2 separate regions of the Homo sapiens genome follow, and region 1 is linked to region 2. The links are contacts of gene promoters, found by promoter capture Hi-C in blood cells and fetal thymus (Javierre and others, 2016). All regions are on one chromosome and are shown on one strand. The core of a region is centred on a gene start or on the middle of the fragment in contact, and the rest is flanking DNA. Distances in the headings are between cores, read along the strand shown.

Region 1 (7,036 bases), core at 803-3,302, 240 kb after region 2:
CAATGGAGAGGCAACGGAGGAGACGTGGCGACAAGTGAGACAAGGGAACATTATCTGTATGTGGATGCGCATGATCCAGTAGTGGACAGGGGAAAAGTAAGGAAATGAAGTCAGGTCAACGGAAGTGGGGAAGGCCTCAAGAAGGAGCAGGGGGTGCAGTATGCACGTGGAAAGGACATATTTGAAAGGAAGGACATGACAGGAAGGAGGAGAGGGGTGCAGAGGCAAGCGCCTTGCTAGATATGAAGATGCAACATTGATTTGTAAAGTCTCCAGGACAGTTCCTGCAAAATGGAGGCATTGAGGATGCTTGGGGCCAGGCGCGGTGGTTCACACCTGTAATCCCAGTACTTTGGGAGGCCTAGGCAGGTGGATCACCTGAGGTCAGGAGTTTGAGACCAGCCTGGCCAACATGGTAAAACCCCATCTCTACTAAAAATACAAAAATCAGCCAGGTGTGGTGGCGGGTGCCTGTAATCCCAGCTACTCGGGAGGCTGAGGCAGGAGAATCGCTTGAACCCGAAAGGCAGAGGTTGCAGTGAGCCAAGATCATGCCACTGCACTCCAGCCTGGGAGACAGAGTGAGACTTGGTCTCAAAAAGAAAGGATCCTTGGGTAGTGTGAGAAAACTACCCAAGGGATGTCAAAATGCTTTGTGAGGCTGGGTGAGGTGGCTCACACCTATAATCCTAGCACTTTGGGAGGCCGAGGCAGGCAGATTGCCTGAGCTCAGGAGTTCGAGACCAGCCTGGGCAACATGGCAAAACCCCGTCTCTGTTAAAAATACAAAAATGAGCCAGGTGTGGCAGCGGGTGCCTGTAATCCCAGTTACTAGGGAGGCTGAGGCAGGAGAATCCCTTCAACTCAGGAGAGAGAGGTTGCAGTGAGTACAGATCACGCCTTTGCACTCCAGCCTGGGTGAGAGAGCGAGACTCCGTCAATAAATAAATAAATAAATAAATAAAAACGCTTTGAGAGAAAAAGAGGGTGTGGCCTGTAACTCATTCTGTGAAGCTGTACCCTCACCTTGATACCCAAACCAGTCAAAGACACAAGAAGAAAGGGGTTTGGGGCCAGGCTTACTCATTAACATGGTCTCAAAGATCCTAAATAAGTCTTAGCAAACAGAAACCAGCGACAAACAAAAAAGAAAACATCGAATTCAATACAATAAATATTTGAGAGCCCACAAAGTGTTAGGTGCTGTTCAGGGCATGGGAGCACTGCGGTAAATAAAACGGATGAGAATCCTGGCTGTGATGAAACTTAAAATGGGGAGGAGGTGAAAGAAAACCAGAAAACGAAGGCAGATGTCATGTGTTTCACAGGTGCAGAGTACAAGTCGAGCACTTGAGAAAGAATTTCTCAGGGAAACATTAAATCACCCTCCATCTCTACTGAACATCCTGAACAACAACAGCGCCGCAGCAGCAAGGACTTGCCTTCCTTCTTAGGGTCATCCATGTTCACGTCCCCTGCCCGGCAGGCTGAAGGCTCATCGCGGCCGCCGCCTCCTTCCATGGAGAGAGCTGTCAGAAGTCACTGCAGGGTGGAACGGGGCCAGAAAGTGAGTACGTGTCAGGGCCCAGGGCTCCGGCTTCCTTCAGCCCTCGGCTCACAGAGGCAGAGAGAGCTGAAGGCCGCGGCCAGGTCTGGGAGAGGCGGCGCGGGGGCCGCTCTGAAATGATCGCATCCCAGGGGACCCCAGGGCCCGAGTGCCGCCAGGCCGGGAGTCAGCCCGAACGCCATCAGACGAGATAACGGAATTCTCGGCTTCTGGGCCAGAGTGTTGGGGGCTCTGTTTGCCTGGGGGGCAGCCCTAGACCTCCCGGCATCCCCGACCACGGCGCGAGGGGCCTCAGTGACCCCTGCTCGAGCCCAGGCCCGGCTCCTGGCGGGGCGCGGCCCCTCCCCGTCCCGAAAACGGCGGGCACCGCGCCGCACCGGGCCCACCGGGCAAGCCTCGCCCCCGACCCTGACCCCACCTTACCCAAAGCGGCAGACGATGCAGGACGCGCCTCCGGCACGGATTTAAACGCGGCGCCGGGAGACGCGGGTTGCCGATTGGTCGGTTTGAAAAGGGCTCCGAGAGGCGGCGGGCTGGGTGCGTCCTGGGTATTGTAGTCAGGACGCTGGTAAGAAGCGTCCAGTGCGCATGCGCACTGCTTCAGCGCAGCGAATGGCTCCGCACAGCGCCAGGGATCACCCACCCGGAAGTCTGCCCGGCCTGGCCGCCAAGTGTCACTAGGTATCCGCGTCAAGCCGGAACCATGTATAGCAGCTCCTTGTGTGTAGGGAGAAAGTTAAAACTGCCATCTAAGGGTGTCGATGGGAAGACTAAAAGTAGGCTCACCCACCTGCTGTGAAGCAGCGCGCGCGAGCTGTTACTAACAGTAGTGAAAAGCCGGGATCCCTGCCCCCGAGGCACGCACTGGGGCGCCGGCTGACCCAGAGACCTGAGGGAGACTCATTGCCGGAGCTGCACAGCCTGTGGGGCTGGAGGGGAACCGTCGCCCTTGGCGGGCTTCCCCAACCGCCAAGGCCTGAGGACCGCCGAGGGCGTGGCGGGAGCCTGTCCTCGGTTTTACAGGCCGGCTGGGGAGCTGCGTTGGAGGAGAGAGCCAGGGGCTGGGGCCCGGTGATGGAGCCTGCCTTGGGGAGTGCATGTGTTGGAGAGAGGTGGGAAGCAGATAGGATAACCCTGACCTGAGCCATGGAGACGCAAGGACAGGACTGGTAGACGGGTCAGTGGGCAGCAACTTAAGACTGACCTCGCTTGAGCCTTTGCCTGCGAACGAGGTATAATACCCACCTCGGGGGCTTGAGGATCAAATGAGGGGCTCCACCCACGGCAAAGTGTCACTAAGCGGGATGGAGGAGGATGCAGGAAGAGGAGTCTGGGAGGACCCGCTCTGAAAAGGATGGAACTCGAGAGCACCATTTTCAGGGACGAAGATAAGCTGTTTATTTGGGGCAGGCTGTGGGGAGAGCTGTGCAGCAAACAGCCACCCGGGGCCCAGGGCAGAGGCCTTCCAGGCTGGCTCGGGCACTTCTGGGTCCCATGTCCCTGGTTTTGCATCATCCATACCAATCACTCCATGTTGCTATGTTCCTTCACCAGAAGACTGGGGGCTCAAAAAGGGCAGGGCAGCCCTCACTCACCAGTCTCCCCAGCCTCACCCAGCTCAGCACAGGGCACCAGGCAGGGGCTGAGAGTGCTGGGGTAGGTGGGTGTGGTCAAACAGCTTGGAAAGAGTTTGGCCTGCTCATTGCATTCCCCTCAGCTCATCCTGGGGATGTCTGCTCATGGGAGAATGGCAGAGGGATCCCCAACAGTCATTCCTGATACTCCTCTCCCTGTATCATGTCAGCACATAGTAGGTGTGGCCTATGTATGGCAGATTCATTTCTGCCCCCAATAGGATTTGCTGTAGTTTGGATGTGTGTCCCCTCAAAATCTCATGTTGAAATGTGATCCCAATGTTGGAAGTGGGGCCTGGTGGGAAGTAATTGGGTCGTGAGGGCAGATCCCTTATGAATGGTTCAGCACCATCCCCTTGGTGATGAGTTCTTGCTTAGTTCACACAAGATCTGGTTATTTAAGAGTCTAAGACCTCCCCTTCTCTCTTACTCCTGCTCTCACTATGTGATATACTGGCTCCCCATCACCTTATGTCATGATCTTAAGCTTCCTGAGGTTGCACCAGAAGCAGATGCCAGCACCATACTTCCTGAAAAGCCTGCAGAACTGTGAGCCAATTAAACCTCTTTATAAATTACCTAGCGTCAGGTATTTCTTCATAGCAATGCAAGAAGGCCTAATACAGAGTTTGACTTCATTTATTTATGCCTTCATTCACCAACTTTCACTGACAGCTACTCAGTGCAGGCCATGTGCCAGGTGATGCTGGGGACAGATGCTGTCCCTGACCTGGAGAGGTCATGGCAGGGGTGCAAGAGCAAGGGCAAGTGCCAAGGGCTGAGGGGCACAGAGGCAGCACCCTCACCAGCCTGCAGTGGGGGTTGGCGGGTAGAAGGCTTCCTGGAGGAGGGACCAGGGTTCCCAATTGCACAGCCAAGTCATGTCTTCTTGCTTGGAACCAGGAGAGGGGAAGGAGGCTCCCCTTAGGATGTGTCCCTAGTTCTTGGGTAGAGAAGGCGCCTCTCTGGAAATACTACTATAATTACCCCTTTTCTTTCTTTCTTTTTTTTTTTTTTTGAGACGGAGTCTTGCTTTGTCGCCCAGGCTGGAGTGCAGTGGCGCGATCTCCGCTCACTGCAAGCTCTGCCTCCCGGGTTCACGCCATTCTCCTGCCTCAGCCTCCCGAGTAGCTGGGACTACAGGCGCCCACCACCATGCCCGGCTAATTTTTTGTATTTTTAATAGAGATGGGGTTTCACCGTGTTAGCCAGGATGGTCTTGATCTCCTGACCTCGTGATCTACCTGCCTCAGCCTCCCAAAGTGCTGGGATTACAGACGTGAGCCACTGCGCCCGACCTCCCATTTTCTTGACTAGATGCCCCACCTACTTTTTTTTTTTTTTCCCTTGAGATGGGAGTCTCGCTCTGTTGCCCAGACTGCAGTGCAATGGCACGATCTTGGCTCACTGCAATCACTGCCTCCCAGGTTCAAGTGATTCTCCTGCCTCAGCCTCCCGAGTAGCTGGGATTACAGACGTGTGCCACCATGCTCAGCTAATTTTTGTATTTTCAGTAGACACAGGGTTTCACCATGTTGGCCAGGCTGATCTCGAACTCCTGACATCAGGGGATCCACCCACCTCAGCCTCCCAAAGTGGTGGGATTACAGGCGTGAGCCACTGCGCCTGGCCTGCCCCACCTACCTTAAGTTCAAGGAGAAGCCATCTCCCCAGGACCCAGCCCCAGGCCTGCACCACAGATGCTCAAAGACTTGGAGGAACTGATGAATTCATTTTAATCACAGAAATTTGCCTGGGCTTGAGCAAACTGTGGGGACTCAATAGATTTGGAGGCCTCCTCTCCCTTCTGAGAGGCCTGCCTGCTTCCTGCCCTGATGAATCCCTAATTTCAGTACAAACTGAGGAACTTGAAAAACATCTGTGCACTGGGACCGCCCCTCACAGGAGGGCTGAAAGCAGCACAGCTGAGTCAGCGGCACATTCAGCAGGCGTTCAGTGGGGAAGCAGGAGACAGAGGCGGCGCTCACAGGACCCGCTCCAGGCTTGTCACAGCCACACATCACAGCACTTTGGGTTTTGCCACAACAGAGCAGCTCTGAGCTCAATCCTTGCACCTCAGAAGTGCATTTATGATTAAAATCATGCTCGACATGAAGCCCTGTTATGATGTGCAGTTTAAAAAGAGAAACGGGTCCAAATCAGCACCAACAGAGCCCCCCAGGGGGCTCCAAGACTCGCCCCAGAGACAGCAGAAGGACCCCATGTGCGCGCTGATCTGTAAGAAGGGTGGTGGATGCAGCAGCAGGGGGCTGCGTCCAAAGGCAGCAGGTGGGGGCCTCTCATAGTGTGACCCTGGGCAGGCCACTCCCCTACCCCGGTACCCTCACCTGAAAAATGGGACAGCAACACAATGAGACAACAGAGACTGTCTAGAATATAAAGAAAAGAATGAAAAGGTCCATCCCAAGGGCAGCCTGGTGGGGACGGGGACAGGCAGTGGGGGGAGGCTGCCTCTGGAAGACCTGTCCCAGCAGAATCAGCCCCCACCTCTGCCCTGCCTTCCAACCTTTGAACCACCAGGCAGTAGACACATTCCCCTGGGAAACAGAATTTGCAAGGCAGGTGGAAAGAGCAGCACTCACACTGGCTGTGACTGCTGAAAAATGCTCATTGGCCCTTCTCGAGGACTGAAAGGAGATTCGGAATCACATTTAAAATTAACCCGTGACCCACTTCCTGTAAAACTGAAGATCACCCTCTAACAGCCCTAACAAACAGGCTCTGGCCGTCTCCTGACCCTAACCCGGTGGAGCAGCTGACTGGACGCAGTGACGCCACCACTGAGGTTCTGCAGGGTGGAGGCGGCCAGGCTGGCTCACTGCATGAGGTGGACGGTAGCTGCCTTGCGGATGAGCCGCTCGGTCAGGGGCGAGTTGGGCTTCAAGGCATCACGCTCCATCAGAAGGCTCCTGTGGAAACAGACACAGAGGTCCTGTTACAGAACCTTCTAGAGGGATGTGGGGCCTGGTGGTCCCTTGGTCCCAAGGCAGAACACAGGCAGGCTAGACTGCGGCACTGAGGGAACAGCAAGGGCCAAGGCCCAGGGGCAGGAGGCCTGGCCTCAGTTTGGGGAGAGGTGAGGATGGGAGGGCACAGACCTCCAGTGCAGGAAGCCACACCCGAGATGGGGCACAACAGGTGGCAGTGGGGAAAACCCAGGTTTGAAGAGAGAAGACCCAGGTACGGTTTGAGGTAAAGACCCTGCTGTGGACTGAATGTCTGTGTCCAGGCTAAATGTATATGTTGAAGCCCAAATGCCCAAGGTGATGGTATTAAGAACAGGGCCTCTTGGAGGTGATTAAGTCATGAGGGTGGGGCCCTTGTGAATGGGATTAGTGCCCTTATAAGAAGAGATAGGTGTGGTGGCTCACCCCTGTAATCCCTGCACGATGGAAGGATGAGGCAGGAAGATTCCTTGAGCCCAGGAGTTTGAGTTTACAGTGAACTGTGATCACACCACTGCATTCCAACCTGGATGACCGAGTGAGACCTTGCCTCTAAAAATATAAAAAAATTTAAAAAGAAAGAAGAAAGAAGAGACGTGAAAGAATTAGCACTCAAAGGAAAGGTCATGTGAGGACACAGCAAGAAAGTGGCTGTCCACAAGCCAGGAAGAGAGGCCTCAGCAGAAACTGAACCCAGCCAGGCCTTGTTCCTGGACATTCCAGCCTCCAGAACTGTGAGACAGTGCATGCCTACTGTGCAAGCCGCCCAGACTGTGGCACTTTTATTTTTTAATTTTTTGAGATAGAATCTCCCTCGGTCACTCAGGCTGGAGTGCAATGACGCGATCTCGGCTCACTGCAACCTCCAC
Region 2 (7,031 bases), core at 3,482-5,981:
GGACACAAGACCTCAGCCCATTGCCCTGAGCCCACAGCATTTCCAGGCAGGCTGGAGATTTGTCTCTGGCTTTTGTGCGTGCCGGCTAAACTTCCTGGAGCTTTCCAGAACCTTCTTGGGGCTAAAGCCTCCCTGGAGCAGGTCGTTCAGGTGCTGGCATCTCAGGGAGCACCTGAGGGCGCCGAGCTCCCAGGAGGAGGCTTCACGAGGCGGCCTGGGTAGCCGTACGCGACAGCCCACGGGCAAGAAATCCCAGCTTTTATATTAGACAAGTTCTGGCAACTTCCAAGCAGGAAAACATGTTTTCTTTGTAGTCATAAAGTTATCCTGGCCTTCCAGGGAAGCGCTAGTACATAAGACGTGCTTGATTAGGATCTAAATTCTCTGTAGCCCCTTGCCTCTATTAACTCTATGTTGAGGCTTCATTTTTGTTCCGTGTTCTAACTTTCACAATTTTCCATGTGTCAAACCCCACCAACTGTAAGGCATCGAGAGGAGGCAGAGGGGTGCAATGGGCCTGCTCCCAAGATGTTTCCCCCTGAATTCCAAAAATAGGGCAAAGTGGACAAAGTGGAGCTTGGCCTGGGCTCACTCGGCTTTTGCCTATGAGTGATTTCTTGTGGCTCCTTGCTGTTTACCAACTGGCCCAGGAATTTACTGTGTAAGGAACAGATTCCAGAAGTCATGTAGCTTCTGGTTGCGGCCCCTGGCAAAACGCATTTTCAAGTGCTTTCTACAGCACGTACAACACTAGAAATCCATCGTGTCTGCCTTTTTTTTTTCTAAATTCTATTTTTGTTTTAAAAAATGCTCACTTCCCGTGAAACACCTCCGGGCAAGTGCAAAATACAAACATCAATTACAATCCATTGAGCCCCTGAGAAAGGCCGCAAGCAGCGATTCTAGGCACAGAAAACTGGTCAGTGGCTCTCAGGGTGACAGGTGCAAGAATGACCCAGGGTGCTGTTACTGAACTCCAAGCCCCCTCCCCGCCCTGAGAGTCATGAGTGGGCCACTGACCCCAGAGATGGTGGGCACATAGGGGCCGGGGAGGAGAGACCCTGCTCCAAGCCAATTCCAAAGGGGAAGGATATGAGCCGGGCAGTGACCTGTGGGAGCCGCAGACTCGGGCAGTGGACAAGCCCACCACATAGGTCACTGCCCTTTACAAAAAGCCCCACATATATCCCTTCTGCTCTCCAGGAATCAGCTCCACTTTCTGGAAACACATTGGGTGGACTGGATCAGTGTCCAAGTACAGACCCCTTGGGAAATCAGCTGAAAGCTGCAGCCCCTGCCTCTGCTCCAACACAGATGTGTGACCACATTCAATTCACATAATGAAGACAGAGAGGAGGCAGCCTTGAACTCATGCTAGGAAACAGCAACTGTGAAAATAGTAAATGCTATTACTGGCAGATCCATGCCTGAGCCAGACCCTGTGCCGACCGCTTCACACAGATTGTCTTGTTAATCCTTCAACAACGCTAGGAGTCTAGGACTATTGTGTCCAGTTAGAACAAGGAGTTAGGCCTTGGCGAAGGTCACACAACTAGTTAGTGGCAGAATTAAAGCTCAACCCCTCGAAGGTGCCAGTCATTCCAAACTCGTGATTTCTGATGCGGCCGGACCACCTGGCCGTCTCAGCACAAGCTGCGGCCTCCGTCTTGTTAGTCCCTCTCCCCTCCCCACTTACTTAAAATTGTGGATTCTAGGCCCGGCGCGGTGGCTCATGCCTGTAATCCCAGCACTTTGGGAGGCTGAGGTGGGTGGATCACCTGAGGTCAGGAGTTCCAGACCAGCCTGGTCAACATGGCGAAACCGTCTCTACTAAACATACACACATTAGTCAGGACTGGTGGTGTGTGCCTATAATCCCAGCTACTCTGGAGGCTGAGGCAGGAGAATTGCTTGAACCCAGGAGGTGGAGGTTGCATTGAGCTGAGATCGCGCCACTGTCCTCCAGCCTAGGTGAGAGAGCAAAACTCCGTCTCAAAAATAAATAAAGTAAAATAAAATAAAACTGTGGACTCTAAATAGGGTGTGGTGGCTCATACCTGTAATCCTAGCACTTTGAGAGGCTGAAGTGGGAGGATCTCTTGAGCCCAGAAGTTTGAGATCAACCTAGGCAACATAGCAAGACCCCATCTCTATTTAGCAATAAATAAAAATAGGCCAGGCACGGTGGCTCATGCCTGTAATCCCAGCACTTTGGGAGGCCGAGGTGGGCGGATCACGAGGTTGGGAGTTCGAGACCAGCCTGACCAACATGGAGAAACCCCGTCTCTACTGAAAATACAAAATTAGCCGGGCGTGAGGCGCACGCCTGTAATCCCAGCTACTAGGGAGGCTGAGGCAGAATTGCTTGAACCTGGAAGGCGGAGGTTGTGGTAAGCTGAGATCGTGCCATTGCACTCCAGCCTGGGCAACAACAGTGAAACTCTGTCTCAAAAAAACAAAACAAAACAAAACAAAACAAAACAAAAAAAAACAAAAACTGCCGACTCTAGATGCAGGCATAGGGAAAAGTACGCAAATCATGTGTTTGGAGTTCAAAGTGTGATCATGAAGCCGACACTCTGGTAACCCTCAGGTCCAGAAGGGGATGCCCCTCCTCCCCCAGAGCCCTCCTGAATGTGCCCATAATCACCTCCTTGTTTTTCTTCATCTTTCCCCTATTTGTGCACACCTCTAAACGTTATGGTGGAGTCGGGCTTGCTGTCGGTCTAAGCGTGAATGGAATGATCTTTTGTCTTTGCTGGACATCCTGTTAGTGAGATTCATCCATCCTCCCCTGTCCCTAGGTGTTGGGCAGTCCCTGTGGTTACCTCGCAGCCTGCAGGTGCCTTATTCCAGAAAAGCAGGCCCACACCTGAACCCACTGGCTGCAGCTGAGTTTTGTTTATTTAAACCCAACCCACTCTGCTTAAAGCCTTATTGCAAAACAGGCACTCCTGGGGTTCTCTGGTTTTTCCTCCTGCCTGGGTCCCCTTCAGGTCCGCCCAGTAGCCTTCCACTGGGAGGCTCCGGGCTCAGGGACCCGCCCTGCCTTCCGGCCCCAGAACTCCTGTCCTTTCATCCTTCCCGGAAAAATCCCAGTGGAAGGGTATATGGCGGGTGGGGAGGTCCTGGACCGCTCACATTAAGGAGACGGACTTTTCTCCTTCCTCCCCTCCCTCCACACACACATTTCCCAACAGGACTCTCCAGTGGAAACCTCGAATTAAAAGGTTCCAAAGCAACTCCACCTTTTAGATCAATATAACGTGTTCAAATCCTTGCTACTGGGAAGAAAATGCTCACATTGGGCTTCAGCACAAAGACACTGTTTCAGCAGCTTTGAGCGAAGTTGGCTGAGTATGCGTGTGACACACACACAGACACATCGCTCCGGGGGAGAAACCCTTCCGGTTCTCCACAGCCGCCCACGGTCCTCGTTGAGACTGGACTCATCTCAGCTCAGCTCAGAGATTTGGCTGCAGGATCCGACCCTCCCTTGCCAAAAAGACCCGTTCTAGGGGTGACTGCGCATTACTCCCACCCCCACCGCTCCGACCGGCCCCAGGAGAAGCCCTTCTAGGAGAGAAGAGGCGACCCCCACCTACCGTCCCCGACCACTGGGAGGCCTAAGGGCTGCACTGGACTCCGGCGCCCCGAGCGCCACCAAGGGAGTGCGCGCCCTTCCCAGCCGCTGGTGGCACAGTCCCAAAGCCCCGCCCATGCGGGGGGTCGCCAAGTCCTAAGCCTCCACCCCCTTTATCCCTGTGCCCCATCCGGAGGCAGGTGTACCCGTCACGCAAACCTAAAGCTGCCCCCGGCCCCCCGTGGTTCCCCGCAGGAGGCGGGGGTGTGTGTCACTTTTCTGAAAGCTCTAAGGTCTCTGCCCCCCGCCCCCCGCTGTCCTCCGTAGGAGGCTGGGCAGGGGCTGTGGCACAGCTCTAAATCCCTGCGGGTGCTTGCTTGCCCCAGGCAGCTTCCAGGACCCGCAGCCCCCCGCCTTCCCCGCAACCCGCTTCGGGAGGAGCCGGACGCTCGGGGATTCCGCGATGCGTCCGCGAACGCTCGGGTCGGGCCGCACGCGGGAGATGAGCGCGCCTCCGCCGTCCTCTCCAAATCCCTTATGTCAACCGGGGTTTTCTTCTTTCATTTAAAAGTTGCGCTTTAAACCAAGTGGGACGCAGATCCGGTAGCTGCCTATTGGGCTTCAAAGTCCAGGGAGTTTTAGTCGGGGTGAAGCATTTTAGCCTCCGTGCGTCTTGCTGTAAAATGGGTAACCCTCCTCGACAGCCTCCGCAGTCCTTAATGGGTGGGGGGGGGCTCCCCGGCCTCTCGGCCCCAGTCCTCCGCCCCCGGGTCCTACCCGCGCGGCACTCCTGGCGGCGGTCTCCGTGGATCTGTTCTGCCGGGGTGGGGAGCCAGGCTCTGAGCCGCGGCCCCGAGCCCGAGGTGCGGAGCCACCGCCCCACGGGTAGCGGCCACCGGGGGCCCCAGCCCCACCTTTCCCGGCCCTGTTGCCTCGGCCCCGCCCCACCGGGAGGCTGGGTGGGGAGGCCTCCGGGGAGTAGGGCCCCAGTCCCCGTCCCGGCCGCGCCCTCGCGTCTCCATAGCGATCCTCTCGGCGCGCACCTCCGAGCCGGCTCCCCCCGGGGCCGAACAATACGCCGCTGGGCCGGGGGCGGGGCGGGGCCGGGCCGGGGGCGGGGAGAGCGCGGGCGGAGTGGGCGCGGGCCAAGCGCACCGCCCAGGCAGCAGCCGGCCGCCGGGGTCTGCGCGGCGCGGAGCTGCCCAGCCCGCTCCGGGAACTCAGCCCCCGCCCCGCGCCGGGCCCGCCCCGCTTCCCACGCCCGTCCGGCCGAGCCCGCGCCGGAGCCACCTGGAGCCGCCTGGAGCCGCCGCCGCCGCCGCAGGTTGATGCGCGGCGCCCTCCCGGGACGCGCGGAGGAGCCATCTTGAAACCAACTTCGCAAACTTTCGCAAAGTGCTCTCGAAGTGGAAGCTGCGGGGGAGGCCGGGCGCGTGGTCCCCACAGTCCCCGCCAGGGCCCCCGGGGAGGCGGGACGCGGACCGCCCCGAGGGCCGGGCGCCCGGGAGCCGCTCCCCGGCCTCGCCGGGTGGATGCGGAGGCGCGCCGGGTGCATGGATTGTGTTCGGGCGCCCGGCTCGGGCTCGGGCTCCGGGCCATGGCGCCGCCGCCGCCGCCCGTGCTGCCCGTGCTGCTGCTCCTGGCCGCCGCCGCCGCCCTGCCGGCGATGGGGCTGCGAGCGGCCGCCTGGGAGCCGCGCGTACCCGGCGGGACCCGCGCCTTCGCCCTCCGGCCCGGCTGTACCTACGCGGTGGGCGCCGCTTGCACGCCCCGGGCGCCGCGGGAGCTGCTGGACGTGGGCCGCGATGGGCGGCTGGCAGGACGTCGGCGCGTCTCGGGCGCGGGGCGCCCGCTGCCGCTGCAAGTCCGCTTGGTGGCCCGCAGTGCCCCGACGGCGCTGAGCCGCCGCCTGCGGGCGCGCACGCACCTTCCCGGCTGCGGAGCCCGTGCCCGGCTCTGCGGAACCGGTGCCCGGCTCTGCGGGGCGCTCTGCTTCCCCGTCCCCGGCGGCTGCGCGGCCGCGCAGCATTCGGCGCTCGCAGCTCCGACCACCTTACCCGCCTGCCGCTGCCCGCCGCGCCCCAGGCCCCGCTGTCCCGGCCGTCCCATCTGCCTGCCGCCGGGCGGCTCGGTCCGCCTGCGTCTGCTGTGCGCCCTGCGGCGCGCGGCTGGCGCCGTCCGGGTGGGACTGGCGCTGGAGGCCGCCACCGCGGGGACGCCCTCCGCGTCGCCATCCCCATCGCCGCCCCTGCCGCCGAACTTGCCCGAAGCCCGGGCGGGGCCGGCGCGACGGGCCCGGCGGGGCACGAGCGGCAGAGGGAGCCTGAAGTTTCCGATGCCCAACTACCAGGTGGCGTTGTTTGAGAACGAACCGGCGGGCACCCTCATCCTCCAGCTGCACGCGCACTACACCATCGAGGGCGAGGAGGAGCGCGTGAGCTATTACATGGAGGGGCTGTTCGACGAGCGCTCCCGGGGCTACTTCCGAATCGACTCTGCCACGGGCGCCGTGAGCACGGACAGCGTACTGGACCGCGAGACCAAGGAGACGCACGTCCTCAGGGTGAAAGCCGTGGACTACAGTACGCCGCCGCGCTCGGCCACCACCTACATCACTGTCTTGGTCAAAGACACCAACGACCACAGCCCGGTCTTCGAGCAGTCGGAGTACCGCGAGCGCGTGCGGGAGAACCTGGAGGTGGGCTACGAGGTGCTGACCATCCGCGCCAGCGACCGCGACTCGCCCATCAACGCCAACTTGCGTTACCGCGTGTTGGGGGGCGCGTGGGACGTCTTCCAGCTCAACGAGAGCTCTGGCGTGGTGAGCACACGGGCGGTGCTGGACCGGGAGGAGGCGGCCGAGTACCAGCTCCTGGTGGAGGCCAACGACCAGGGGCGCAATCCGGGCCCGCTCAGTGCCACGGCCACCGTGTACATCGAGGTGGAGGACGAGAACGACAACTACCCCCAGTTCAGCGAGCAGAACTACGTGGTCCAGGTGCCCGAGGACGTGGGGCTCAACACGGCTGTGCTGCGAGTGCAGGCCACGGACCGGGACCAGGGCCAGAACGCGGCCATTCACTACAGCATCCTCAGCGGGAACGTGGCCGGCCAGTTCTACCTGCACTCGCTGAGCGGGATCCTGGATGTGATCAACCCCTTGGATTTCGAGGATGTCCAGAAATACTCGCTGAGCATTAAGGCCCAGGATGGGGGCCGGCCCCCGCTCATCAATTCTTCAGGGGTGGTGTCTGTGCAGGTGCTGGATGTCAACGACAACGAGCCTATCTTTGTGAGCAGCCCCTTCCAGGCCACGGTGCTGGAGAATGTGCCCCTGGGCTACCCCGTGGTGCACATTCAGGCGGTGGACGCGGACTCTGGAGAGAACGCCCGGCTGCACTATCGCCTGGTGGACACGGCCTCCACCTTTCTGGGGGGCGGCAGCGCT

Evidence for each region. The method cuts DNA at HindIII sites, captures the fragments that hold promoters and counts their contacts. A CHiCAGO score of 5 or more calls a contact.
Region 1: a contact is called between the fragment with the promoter of GTSE1 here and the fragment with the promoter of CELSR1 in region 2, in 4 of 17 cell types (M0 macrophages, M1 macrophages, erythroblasts and 1 more). The highest score is 12.3, in M0 macrophages.

Annotation. Positions count from the first base shown.
Region 1 is chr22:46,291,886-46,298,921 of GRCh38, reverse strand. GTSE1 (G2 and S-phase expressed 1) reads right to left here and starts at 2,052. Exons shown (of 12, transcript NM_016426.7): 1 at 1,991-2,052; 2 at 1,443-1,542. The coding sequence starts at 1,521. It overlaps GTSE1-DT (GTSE1 divergent transcript), which reads left to right and starts at 2,262. Exons shown (of 1, transcript NR_024009.1): 1 at 2,262-3,779. TTC38 (tetratricopeptide repeat domain 38) reads right to left here. Exons shown (of 14, transcript NM_017931.4): 14 at 4,914-6,131. The coding sequence ends at 6,038. RefSeq lists an enhancer at 1,535-1,644 and a silencer at 1,795-1,994. The HindIII fragment of the contact is 11,600 bases long and covers 1-3,690 here.
Region 2 is chr22:46,535,320-46,542,350 of GRCh38, reverse strand. CELSR1 (cadherin EGF LAG seven-pass G-type receptor 1) reads left to right here and starts at 4,731. Exons shown (of 35, transcript NM_001378328.1): 1 at 4,731-7,031. The coding sequence starts at 5,181. It overlaps LINC02925 (long intergenic non-protein coding RNA 2925), which reads right to left and starts at 856. Exons shown (of 2, transcript NR_186692.1): 1 at 1-856. The HindIII fragment of the contact is 22,329 bases long and covers 1-7,031 here.